Linked DNA regions of Homo sapiens: region 2 is linked to region 1. Evidence: promoter capture Hi-C in 16 types of primary human blood cells and fetal thymus (Javierre and others, 2016). All regions are on one chromosome and are shown on one strand. Each heading gives the region's core, a stretch centred on a gene start or on the middle of the fragment in contact. The rest is flanking DNA. Distances are from core to core; before and after follow the strand shown. Region 1 holds the start of MYO10 (myosin X). Region 2 has its middle 450 kb from the start of LINC02100.

What was found. Contacts are between HindIII fragments. The CHiCAGO score rates a contact against its expected background, and 5 or more counts as called.
Region 2: a contact is called between a fragment that was not itself captured here and the fragment with the promoter of MYO10 in region 1, in 3 of 17 cell types (M2 macrophages, monocytes and M0 macrophages). The highest score is 7.6, in M2 macrophages.

The regions. Positions count from the first base shown.
Region 1 is chr5:16,934,207-16,939,807 of GRCh38, forward strand. MYO10 (myosin X) reads right to left here and starts at 2,082. Exons shown (of 41, transcript NM_012334.3): 1 at 1,582-2,082. The coding sequence starts at 1,602. The HindIII fragment of the contact is 4,395 bases long and covers 1-2,914 here.
Region 2 is chr5:18,297,841-18,303,441 of GRCh38, forward strand. No RefSeq gene overlaps it. Among named protein-coding and RNA genes, the nearest start is that of LINC02100, 450 kb to the right of the region's middle. The HindIII fragment of the contact is 6,425 bases long and covers 28-5,601 here.

The DNA of each region.
Region 1 (5,601 bases), core at 832-3,331:
TCCTGATGTTCCCCCCACTTGCACTAGGGGGCAGAGTTCTCCCCAAGGGGGAGCCACGGACCCCTGTGGTGCTCAGACAGGCTACAGGAGGAGTGAGATCCGTGCAAACTGAATACAAATTTCTATATTTTCATCAGATTTTCTAAGGGACCCAGAACACAAAAACAACAAAGTTAAGAATCATTGCCCTAGGGGCAGGGCCTCCGTTTTCTTACAGATGCAAGCAATTAAACACCGGAACTCACTGTAGCCCGAGGGTCCTTTACCACTGGACAACGTGCAACTCTTGCAGAAAGTTCTGGTGCCTTTCGACAAGCATGAAAACAAAAGTCTATGGACTAGAAAATGCGAGCGTCTCACAATTATATATATTTCACTTTTTTTAAGAAAAGGAAAAATATGTATTGATGGATAATTCCTTTCTAGTCTTCCTTCCACAATGAATGTGGGTATCACATCTGAAACACCACTTTTAAAAACTAGATATGACTACTAAACAAGAATGCATTTATCACTTTGGCCAGTATGAATAGCTGTCTGAGAATACAGTCAGTGAGCATGCAGAAAGCAGAATGACTTGAAATATTATATCCAATTAAATCAGATAAACCAAGTCGGCTAACACAGAGGCAAGCCCTCATCAATCTGATTTGCTGGAAGACTCCAAAGCGGTTCTGCACTCAGAAAACATTCCCTGGCTTTCAACGAAAATCACATCAGACTCTCTCAAGTCAACTAAGTTTACTTTGAGCCACTTCAAACCTCAAACTTAAACAGAATTTATTAAATAAACACAACCAAGAAAGGAAAGGGAGCCAAGAAACCACAGTAAGTCTCGATCCCAAAGGGGGAAAAAGGGTTCTCAAGTTAAGTTTCAGTGTCCCACCCTCAACGACCCTAAAGAGGGCATCCGTTTCATCTATTAAAATAGCCACTGTTTGCCCTAAACGAATTTTCTTTACATTCGAATTCAAAATCTGCATGGACACTCTACACAAATACATGATCATTTGATCCCAGGGTCTGGAGTTATCCCAAGCCTTAAAAGAGCACTTCTCGGCGAGCAAAGTAACCGATTAAACCCTTGCCTCTCCTTCTCACACTTCATTAAGCCGTCTCCTCTGGAAGTGTTTGAACCCCTGCACAGGAAGCCCGCACGTTTTGCAAAGGAAATACCAGACAAGACCTTTCTTGGAGAAAGGCAGGTCCCCGCTGAACATTTTATTGGGCTTCCTGCACCCGGGCAGTCGAGCGGGCGGATCGCCCCGCCCGCGCCCCGGCGCGCGCCGCCTCACCTGGCGCGGGTGTCCCAGGGCGCCCCGAGAGCCAGCCACCCACGCAAACGGAAACGCACCTTCGCTACCTCCCGGAGCAAAATGCGAGCGCGGGACAGGACGAAACAAAACCTGCCCGGGCTTACTCATCAGAGACTCCGCGGGGGGATGGGGGGTGATTTCAGGAGACTCCCAGAAAGTTGCGCCTTCCAGGGCTTAGGAAAAAGTACCCAGGGCGCGCGGCGTGGTGGGCAGACGCCTCTCTCCCTGGGCTCCGGAGGCCAGGTCGGACTGGGAGCGCACTTACCTCGGTGAAGAAGTTATCCATTGTTCCAGCGCAGTCCCGGACTCGCCGAGTGCCGCTCCGACTCGCGGAAGTCAGCGCCGCCGCGGGTCCGGGGAAACCATGCGTGTCACGGCGCCACTCCCGAGGACGCGCGCCCGCGGGGCTCCCCTGCTGCCATCGCCCGGTCCCTTCTTGTCCTTCTCACCTTTTGTTCGCCCAAACCCAAGTCCCTAACTCGCCCGTCCCGACGGCAGCCTTTGTCTCTTCTTCCTCCAAGTTCCTCACTACTGGGCGCAGCGCTCGCAAGCGGAGAACAGCTGGTGGCACATTCTTCCCCCAGGCGGGGGAAGGCGGCGGGGTGCTGGCGAGCGCGGCCCCCTCCCTCTGCGCTCCGGCCGGGGGCCCTCGGGGCGGGCAGGAGGACAGCGGGCCGCAAAGTGAGCAGGAGCCGCGATCCCCGCGCGAGCGCTTGGAGGTGAGCAGTCCCGCGCCGCGGCTCAGCCAGCTCTCGCCCGCGGGACTACAGCCCAGCGACCTCGCCCCGCCCTCCCGCAGCCGGCCCCGCCCTCCCGCAGCCGGCCCCGCCCTCCCGCTCGCGGCCCCGCCCCCAGGAGCTTGGCCCTCCGCCAACCACACCGTCTGGCCCCGCCCGGGCGGAGCGCCCCGCCCCCTTCCCGACCAGGCCCCGCCCACTCTAAGCCCGAAGCAGCCGCAGGCTCGTTAGCGGACCCGGGAGGGGGCCGCGTGTTTCCCCAGGTCTTCCCACGTAGGCGTGGGGAGGGGATTTAACTCTTCCCTCTGCAGAGAGAGACTAAACAATCACTTAGAGGGGAGGAGAAGGGACTGGGGGCTTCTGTGCCTTTCATGTTTAGCAGACCCGGGAACCGGCTCAACACGGATCTCATTAATGCAGCCCGGTAGACTAGCAATCTCGGGAAGGAAGCGCGGTCAGCGGAGCTGCCGGGGCTGCGGGGCCAGATCAAAGCGGAAGACGGAGGCTAATCAGAATTTCTGGAAGCTGCATTCCCGTGTTGACTTTCTGTCCTGCAGTCGGGTTTGCTTAAGACGTTTGCGTAACAGCGGGGAAATGTAGTTTTGAAACTGGAAGGGGACGTGGCCAATATCACCTTTAAAAATGTAACCCTTTTCTAGACCTCAAGGAAGCAGAGATGGCAGATGGCACTGAGATGGACGAATGATCAAACCCACCTGGCACTGAGTCCCGTTTCCCCTAGGGCAGTTCTTTTAACTTTATGCTGTGCGAGGGTCACCTGGGAACCTTGTTAGAACGCAGGCTGGAACAATCTGCTTTCCAGGTGCCCCTCAGGTGCTACCTGGTCCTGTGCTGAACGAAAGCTTGTAACAAGTAGAGAAATTAAGAGTAAACGTTTGTAGCAATTTAATAATGCCACGACATCCAAGCACATGATCAGTGGACTCTTTGAACCGAGTATAAACCAGTTTGGGTGTTGTCAGACTCACGTGGTGAGTCACACCTGGCGCCGCAGTGTATTGGTACCTGGCCGACTGGGAACAAAAATGGCTGGTTCTTCAGCACAAAAGATTTGAGATGCTCTCTCCAGGGAATTTGCCAACTGCTACTCAACCTTTAAAACTCAGCTCACAAAGTCACACCTTCCAGGGGAAGGAACCCTTCCCAAAGATGCTACTCCACTCACCCCACCCAAGCTCCCCGTAACCACTGGGCTAGATGCCCACTCTAGGATTTATTCCTAAGACTGTTGGGGAAGGACTGTGCTTTAAGATGAGTATCCCCAGGCTGTCTCACAGCATGAATGAATGAATGAAACATCCTTCTGTAATCCTTATGGGGAAAGTCAAGCATGTTTGTAACTTATCCCAGTCCAGTTCTTCACCATTAATATCATTGCTCCCACCTCACTTCCCTTTAGAAAGAGTCAAGGTGTAAATTAGTTAATGATATTGTGCAATGTTGTTCTGTTTCACAGGTTTACACGCTTAAGGCGCTGAGCCATTAAAGCTTGTGTCCAAGGTCGCAAGGAAAGTGAAGATGGAGTCAGGATAAATACCAACAATCCCAGTGCTTAGTCAAATGGGTCCTGCAACCACTGGTGTTCAGATACTGGAGCAGAACAATTACAGTCATTATGGTATTAATCTGCACACAACATCTCTGCCAGAGAAATTACCAGGGAGATTGTTGAAGTGAGTGTGTGGGTGTGACGTGGTTCCCAGCATCAGCCCAGCCACTGATACGTTGGGCAACCTCGCCATGTCATTTCAAAAGTCACTTTCCATATCGGCTCATCAGTTATAACAAATGTACCACACTAATGCAACATGTTAATAATAGGGGCAAGTGAGGGTGAGGGGCTGGGAGGGGTCTATGGACACTCTCTGTACTTTCTGGCCAATTTTTATGTAAGCCTAAAACTGTTTTTTTAAAGTCTACTAATCTTTTAAAGGTGATTTTCCTGCCAATTATGAAGATATCGTTAATAATTGCCCCCAATTTGACTCACGTAAAGAATGGTGAGCCAGATCCAATATATAAAGTTTAGATTTTACTGAATCATTTTATTTCTTCAAAAAGCTTACATCATCAGTTAACAGGGTAAGAAAGTTAAAAAAAAAAACTTACATCAATGTTTTATCAATGTTGATCCCTAGATCACCTTATCAGTTGCTAAAAAGAAAAAAAAACTGACTCCAAATCTCTGTGGCAAATTGATTTCCTAAGAATTTGCATTTTTTATTTCTTTACCTGTGGATTATATTGAAAGAATTTGCATTTTAATAAGCACCCCGATAACCAGTTCAGAGCTTGGGAATCGCCACTTTATCAGAATTCATCAGCTTTTCTATATATCCCCATATTCTCAAAAAGGTGTAAGATAAGCTGTGGCAGCGAAACTCTTACTTGCTGAACAGCAAAATGCATGTTCTAAATAAGATATCTAACCCTCAAGTATCTGGGGTTGAATCAGTTGTTAAAAAGCAGCGTGTTAAATTTATAAGGGCTTTGACAGGATTGGACAGAGACTGGGAAGCATTTTAAATCAATAGATTTCTAAGAATATCTAGTCTTATTACCATTTCTTAAAATTTGAGTGCTTCCTCTGAGAGAGTTGTGCTAACCACTGGACAAAGCAGTTTAGACCAAATCTATTAAACCCTGCCCTCTGAGAAGCGACAGAGGCACAAGAATGGTAATAATAGAAGGATGAGTGTGTTTCCATGAGGCAAAGGTCTGTCTCAACTCTCTGTCCTACCTGTCTTTCAAATAAACCAGGCTAACAGAGTATGACATTTTCAAAATAAAACACCCCCAAAAGCTCAAGTTAAGTTATCTTATTTAGTGGCATACATTAATCTACAATCAACAAAATTTTAATACTGATTGGATCATTTCCCCACTGAAAGAGAGAGTTGCATATGTATATTTGTGAGTTAAGTAATAACAATCTTCTGTTTTTGTTCTCCACCAACAGTTTGTTCGTTTTTAGTTGAAACGGGTTGTCTCATTTCCTTTGTGAATTCAAACTGAGTTCCTTTTGTTGTTGCTGCTGCTGCCATTCCTTGTCTTGATGTGTCTTGGGGCGTAGAGTCTTTTCCATTATCTTTTTTTTTTATTAAACACTCACCCCTTAATTGCCCCTGTTAGAATAATGGCTTAATTACTAGTTATAGAAAGGGAAAGTTCTCAAAGTTTCTTTCACACAAATTAGAAGTTAATAACTGACAATTCTAAAGTCCTTTCATGCTTAACTAAACAGCAGTCCATCCTTTGGGCTCACTTACCCTCTTGGATGTTTAAAACATCAAATGTTTTTACCTTCTCAAACAAAAGGGAATTTTTTTAATGTGATTTAAATTTTTACACAAGTGTTTCTTTTATTTCTCATACCTTAGCATTCAGAAATCCTCAAGGGAATTTTTTTCTGCTGAAACTGAAAACAATTGTAGGTGGTTTCAATAGAATAAATTTGGGAGAAAATACCTGAAATGTTTCACATTGTAATAGAAGTAAGTACAGAAGAATAAACATAGAACTAAAAT
Region 2 (5,601 bases), core at 1,990-4,489, 1.4 Mb after region 1:
GTACTTGAAAAAAATGGAAGTCTGGAAAGCTTTTTTAGCAGATCCATTGGCCTAGAAATCACACACAAACAACGAAAGTGTTAGCGATTTTGAAAACCTACATACTAGCATAAAGCAAAACATAACTCTAAGAAATGTTGAAGGTTATTGGAGCAAAGCTGCTATTTCAATAGTTTATCAATAAATTCTGCAATTACATCACCTCATCTGCACCTGATGAATAAAAATAAATTATTTCAAAGTTTTAAAAAGTGCAACAATGATTTGCAAGACAGAGTAAACATACAGTAAAGGTTTTAATTCCTGAGACTTAAGTTGGATAGGTCTAGATTTTCATCAAGGAAAACAAAAGTATGATGTTAAATTCAAATTCTACTCACTGTACTTTGGGAGATTCCCTCCACCATTGGTGAAAAGTTTTATTTTCTAAAATCACACACACTACATATATTTATACAATGCCCATCTTGCCAAAGATGTCTTCCCTGAAATTCTAAATTTATTTTTTCCATCTTCAGATTGTTCAAAACATTGCAACAAAAATGACAAAAAATGTAGTTAAGAGTAATTAGACAATGAAAGAGATGACCTGACCCTGTACAAGGTCAAATGACATTAGGGAGCAACAACTTCTATAATCTCATAAATCACCAAGAAAATGGGCTATTGTGACAAGAGTTTTTGTCAGGAAACCCTTAATATCATCCTGGGATCTTCACTGTGATCAGTATATTCCTCCACCATGCCAAAGAACACCTATAATAGTTGAAGATATAAAAACATTTTTCCAAAAAAATGATTCTATTGTCCTAAATCATTTGCCCAGGTTACTTCATAACTATCTCTTCAATTGAGTTTCAATATTGGCAAAAATTCTTTTGGTTTTCTAATTTATCTTTCTTCCATAAGACACATAATTTATAATTAAACAAAATGTGTCTCTATTAAGTTAAAGTAACGTCTCCATTCCTTCATCACTCTTCACAAAGGTAAATGAAACAATCAACTGCCTCATCTATAAACCATCATTTATATTCCTAATTCTTCCTTCCTGTTGGGCTTGATATACTTTCAACATCTTTTAGGTAAGCCACACGGATAGGTGGTCAATCTAAATGAGTGAAAAATATTCTGTAGCAATCAAGAAGATAAATCAAACCTTGTAAATTTTCCCTACAAATTGGAGCAATATTATGACTTGAACAGTTTATCAAAATTAAGAGCAGTGATTCTTATTCCTAGCTGTCCATTACAAACACCAGGTGTGGGGAGTGGGTAATTTACACATTGAATATTAGGCTTTCTATTAGTCCATTCTCACACTGCCATAAAGAACTACCTGAGACTGGGTAATTTATAAAGAAAAGAAGTTTAATGGACTCACAGTTCCATAGACTGTACAGGAGGGATGGCTGGGGAGGCCTCAGCAAACTTACAGTCATGGCTGAAGGTGAATGAGAAGCAGGCACAATCTTCACATAGTGGAGCAGGAGGAAGAAAGGGTGAGCAAAAGGGGAAGTGCCACACACTTTAAAACAATAGATTTCCTGAGAATGCTCTCATTATCATGAGAACAGCCAAGGGGGAAATCCATCCTCATGATCACATCACCTCCAACCAGGTTTCTCCCCCAACATTGGGAATTACAATTCAACATGACATTTGGGTGGGGACACAGAGATAAACCATATCAGGCTTCAACTGACAATAAATTAGTCAGAAGCCTCAGTACTTGTGCTCAGACTTGGGCTCAGGCTTGGGTGTTTTCTTAAAAAAAATCATTCCAGGTGATTTTAATGTGTAACCATGGCTGAGAACCAGTGAATTAGATAATCATTTTCTAGTGCATTGCTCAATTAAGATAATTATGCCCATAGAGCTTAAGCTATACCTGCTCCACACTTTCCATATCTAACTTTTATACCACCATTCTCTCTCTTCTTAATAAACACATTGTCATTATAAGTCATCACTGCTTTGTCTGTATCTCCAACAATAGGGAAGGGTGTGAAGGAATTTGAAGAGTTTTAATCCATTTTTTACATCTCTAGGGGTAATAAATTTATAGGCTCATGAAATTCTTCTTACTGCTTCTATTGAAGGAAGGGAAGAAGATCTGTTGACATAATGTCTAGGGAGAAACTTTAAGTTAATCTTGACACCCAGAGATACTAATTCTTTTTTTTTTTCCTGTATTTTCTTTTATAGACTTAAAATGACTGCTCTGCAGCCAGGAGTAACTGAAATATTTGGCTTCTTAAAAGTGATGACCTATTTAATGAACAGATGATATAAATATAAGCCATAAGGTTCTTATTAAAATATAAATGGAGGGGTCAATTTCTTAAATGTTTTTAAATATTCAAGGGTTCACAAAGAGGGAATTTTTTAGAACAGAACAGAGATTTCCCTAAAATAAGTTTTATTTTTCTATTAAAATATGCATCAATATCATTATAAGTATGTTTTTCGAGGTTGCCCTTTCCTGCTTTGAATGGTTATGGCAGACTTTGTTTTTCTGTTTATCGCATCTTTAGAGGAATGCCCACATGCCAGAAACAAGTACAACTGAATTTCCTTAACTTGAAATTTCTAAAAAGCAAATAAAATGAAAGAGAATTACAGAGATGAAACAAATTTTATAGAAACTTTTGAATTACATTCGTCCATATTGTTTTATTTTCTGATGTTTTATAGGCTGGGCCTTAGACTAGATCTTTATTTTCATGTCTTGTTCTGACCACATGACATAGTTTAAGGTAGAAACATACACTGTCTGTCAGAGTAAAGCAACACAGAACAATGAGTTCAACGAGTTAATTCACTGGCAATTTGAGTTTTTCCTGATGCTAGTACATGTATGTTCATTCTGTCATTCATAGAGAATCACAGGACAAGTTCTTCCATGGGAAGCAGTTTTATTTTATTGTAGGAAAAAAAGTACTTCAGAAGTAGTTAAGTCCTAGCATAAATAATTATTTATATATATATACTCATATTAGATATTAATTTTAAACAGGTGAAATAGTGAAGTAACAATTATAATGAAAAATCTTATTGTACTGAAAAAACATTGATGTCTACTACATTGGAAGGATTTAAAGCCTTGAAGCATTTTTTTAATCCAACAAACTAAAAATGGAGACTGAGTGAAGATTGCGAATTCACTGAATAATCATTTTGATTCAAATGGTAATGTCACTGAGAAGAAACATTTATTTGACAATCACAAGTGGTATTACCATTTGAATAAAATGATAATTTTATTTTGTTTGCAAAATAGGGTACACATACTATTTATAATTATTTCGTTGTTAAATTTTAAAACTAATTTAATTTCCTGGCCTCTTTCTAAAGTGTGTAGATTAATACCTAATTAGAATTTTAAAAATGAATTATTGGATCTGATGTTTAATGAGATTGTCTGTTGCCATAAGAAATTATAATCTGTTTCACACCTATTTTCTTCTTTTTCAGCTTTTACTTTAGATTCAGGGAGTGCATGTGCAGGTTTGTTACCTGGGTGTGCTGCATGATACTGAAGTTTGGGGTGATCAAATGATCCCATCACCCAGGTAGTGAGCATAGTACTCAACACTTTTTCAACCTTTTCTTCCCTTACTCCCTCCCCTTTCTAGTATTTCCCATTTCTGTTGTTACCATCTTTATGTCCCTGAGTACCCAATATTTAGCTCCCACTTACAAGTGAGAACATGTGGTATTTGTTTTTTTTTTTTTTTTTCCTGTGCTAATTCACTTAGAATAATAGCCTCCAGCTGCATCTATGTTGTTGCAAAGGACATGAATTCATTCTCTTAGAACTGCGTGGTATTCCATGGTGTATATGTACCACATTTTCTTTATACATTTCACCATTTATGGACACCTAGGATGATTTCATGCCTTTGCTATTGTGGAATTGTGTTGCAATGAACATATGACTGCATGTGTCTTTTCGGGAGAATGATTTGCTTTCTTTTGTATATAAACCCAGTAATGCGATTGCTAGGTCAAATGGTAGTTCTAGTTTAAGTTTTTTGAGAAATCTCCAAACTGCTTCCCACAGTGGCTGAATTAATTTGGATTCCCACCAACAATGTGTAAGTGTTCCCCTTTCTCAGCAGCCTCGCCAGCACCTGTTGTGTTTTGACGTTTTAATTGTAGCCATTCTTACTGCTGTGAGATGGTATCTCATTGTGGTTTTCATTTGCATTTCTCTGATGATTAGTGACATAAGCATTTTTTTCATGTTTGTAGGCCACTTTTGTGACTTCTTTTGAGAAATGACTGTTCATGTCTTTTACCCATTTTTAAATGGTTTTTTTTTTTTTTTTTTTTTTTTTTGCTTGTTAAATTCCTTATAGATTATGGATATTAGACCTTTGTCAAATGTATGGTTTGGGAATATATTCTCCCATTCCATAGGTTATCTGTTTACTCTGTTGATAGTTTCACTGGCTGTGCAAAAACTATTTAGTGTCATTAGGTCCCACCTACCAATTTTTGTTTTTGTTGCAATTGCTTTTGAGGACTTAGTCATAAATTCTTTTCTGAGGTCAATGTTCAGAATGGTGTTTCCTAGGTTTTCTTCTAGGATTCTTATAGCTTGAGGTTTTACATTTAAATCTTTTAAATTTTGAGTTAATTTTTGCATATGATGAGAGGAAGGTATCCAGTTTGATTCTTCTGCATATGGCTAGCCAACTATCCTTGCACCATTTTTTGAATAGGGAGTCCTTTTCCTATTGCTTATTTTTGTCTACTTTGTCGAAGGTCAGATGGCTGTAGGTAAATTTCATATATTTTCAAGAAGAGATTATGTTTTAGAGTTGATGCTGTCAATAAAGCACAAACCAAATAGGTTAAAGTAGTATCTAGAGTTATGATAAGATGTTTATTATATCTGACAGTAAGCAGATACAGTAATTTGTGGGACCAAATACTACATTTGGTTTGCAAGCATTGTTCATGGCATTGAAAGACCCTTGGTTTAACCAGAGAAAGAGCATGGGCTTATTGAATTCTAGTTCTGCGACTAATTTTGTGACATTGGACATATTTAGTCTTCCTGCTTTATTTATAAAATAGAGATGACAATGCATATTCCATAAGGTCTTTCTTAGGAATTAATCTGATAATGCCTAGAAATTCTCAGAACACTGCAAAACTCAGTAGCTTACCCACCACTATAATCCTAATTTTTTTATCCAGCAAAACAAATTCTGATATTGGATAATGCTAGATGCCAAGTCTTTTTTTCTTTGTTGGTAGCCTTTCTTATTGGGAATGTGGCACTGTATTTTTTTCTACAAAAAGGTAGAAAAGCAAAAATCTGAGCCGATGTGTATATGGGTTTTTCATTTTCTTTTAAGCATGTGCCCATGTATTTCCCCTTTAGTATAACTATTACTATTATATGATTAAAAAAAAAACACTAAATTGGCAAATGACCCATCACCCACACACATACACACACACACACACACACACACATACACACACACACGAGAGAGAGAGAGAATCCCTAGCAATTTGGTCCAAAATATGAGCTCAGTGCATCCTACAGAGCAAATGTTCAACAACTCTGTGTGGATGGGCATC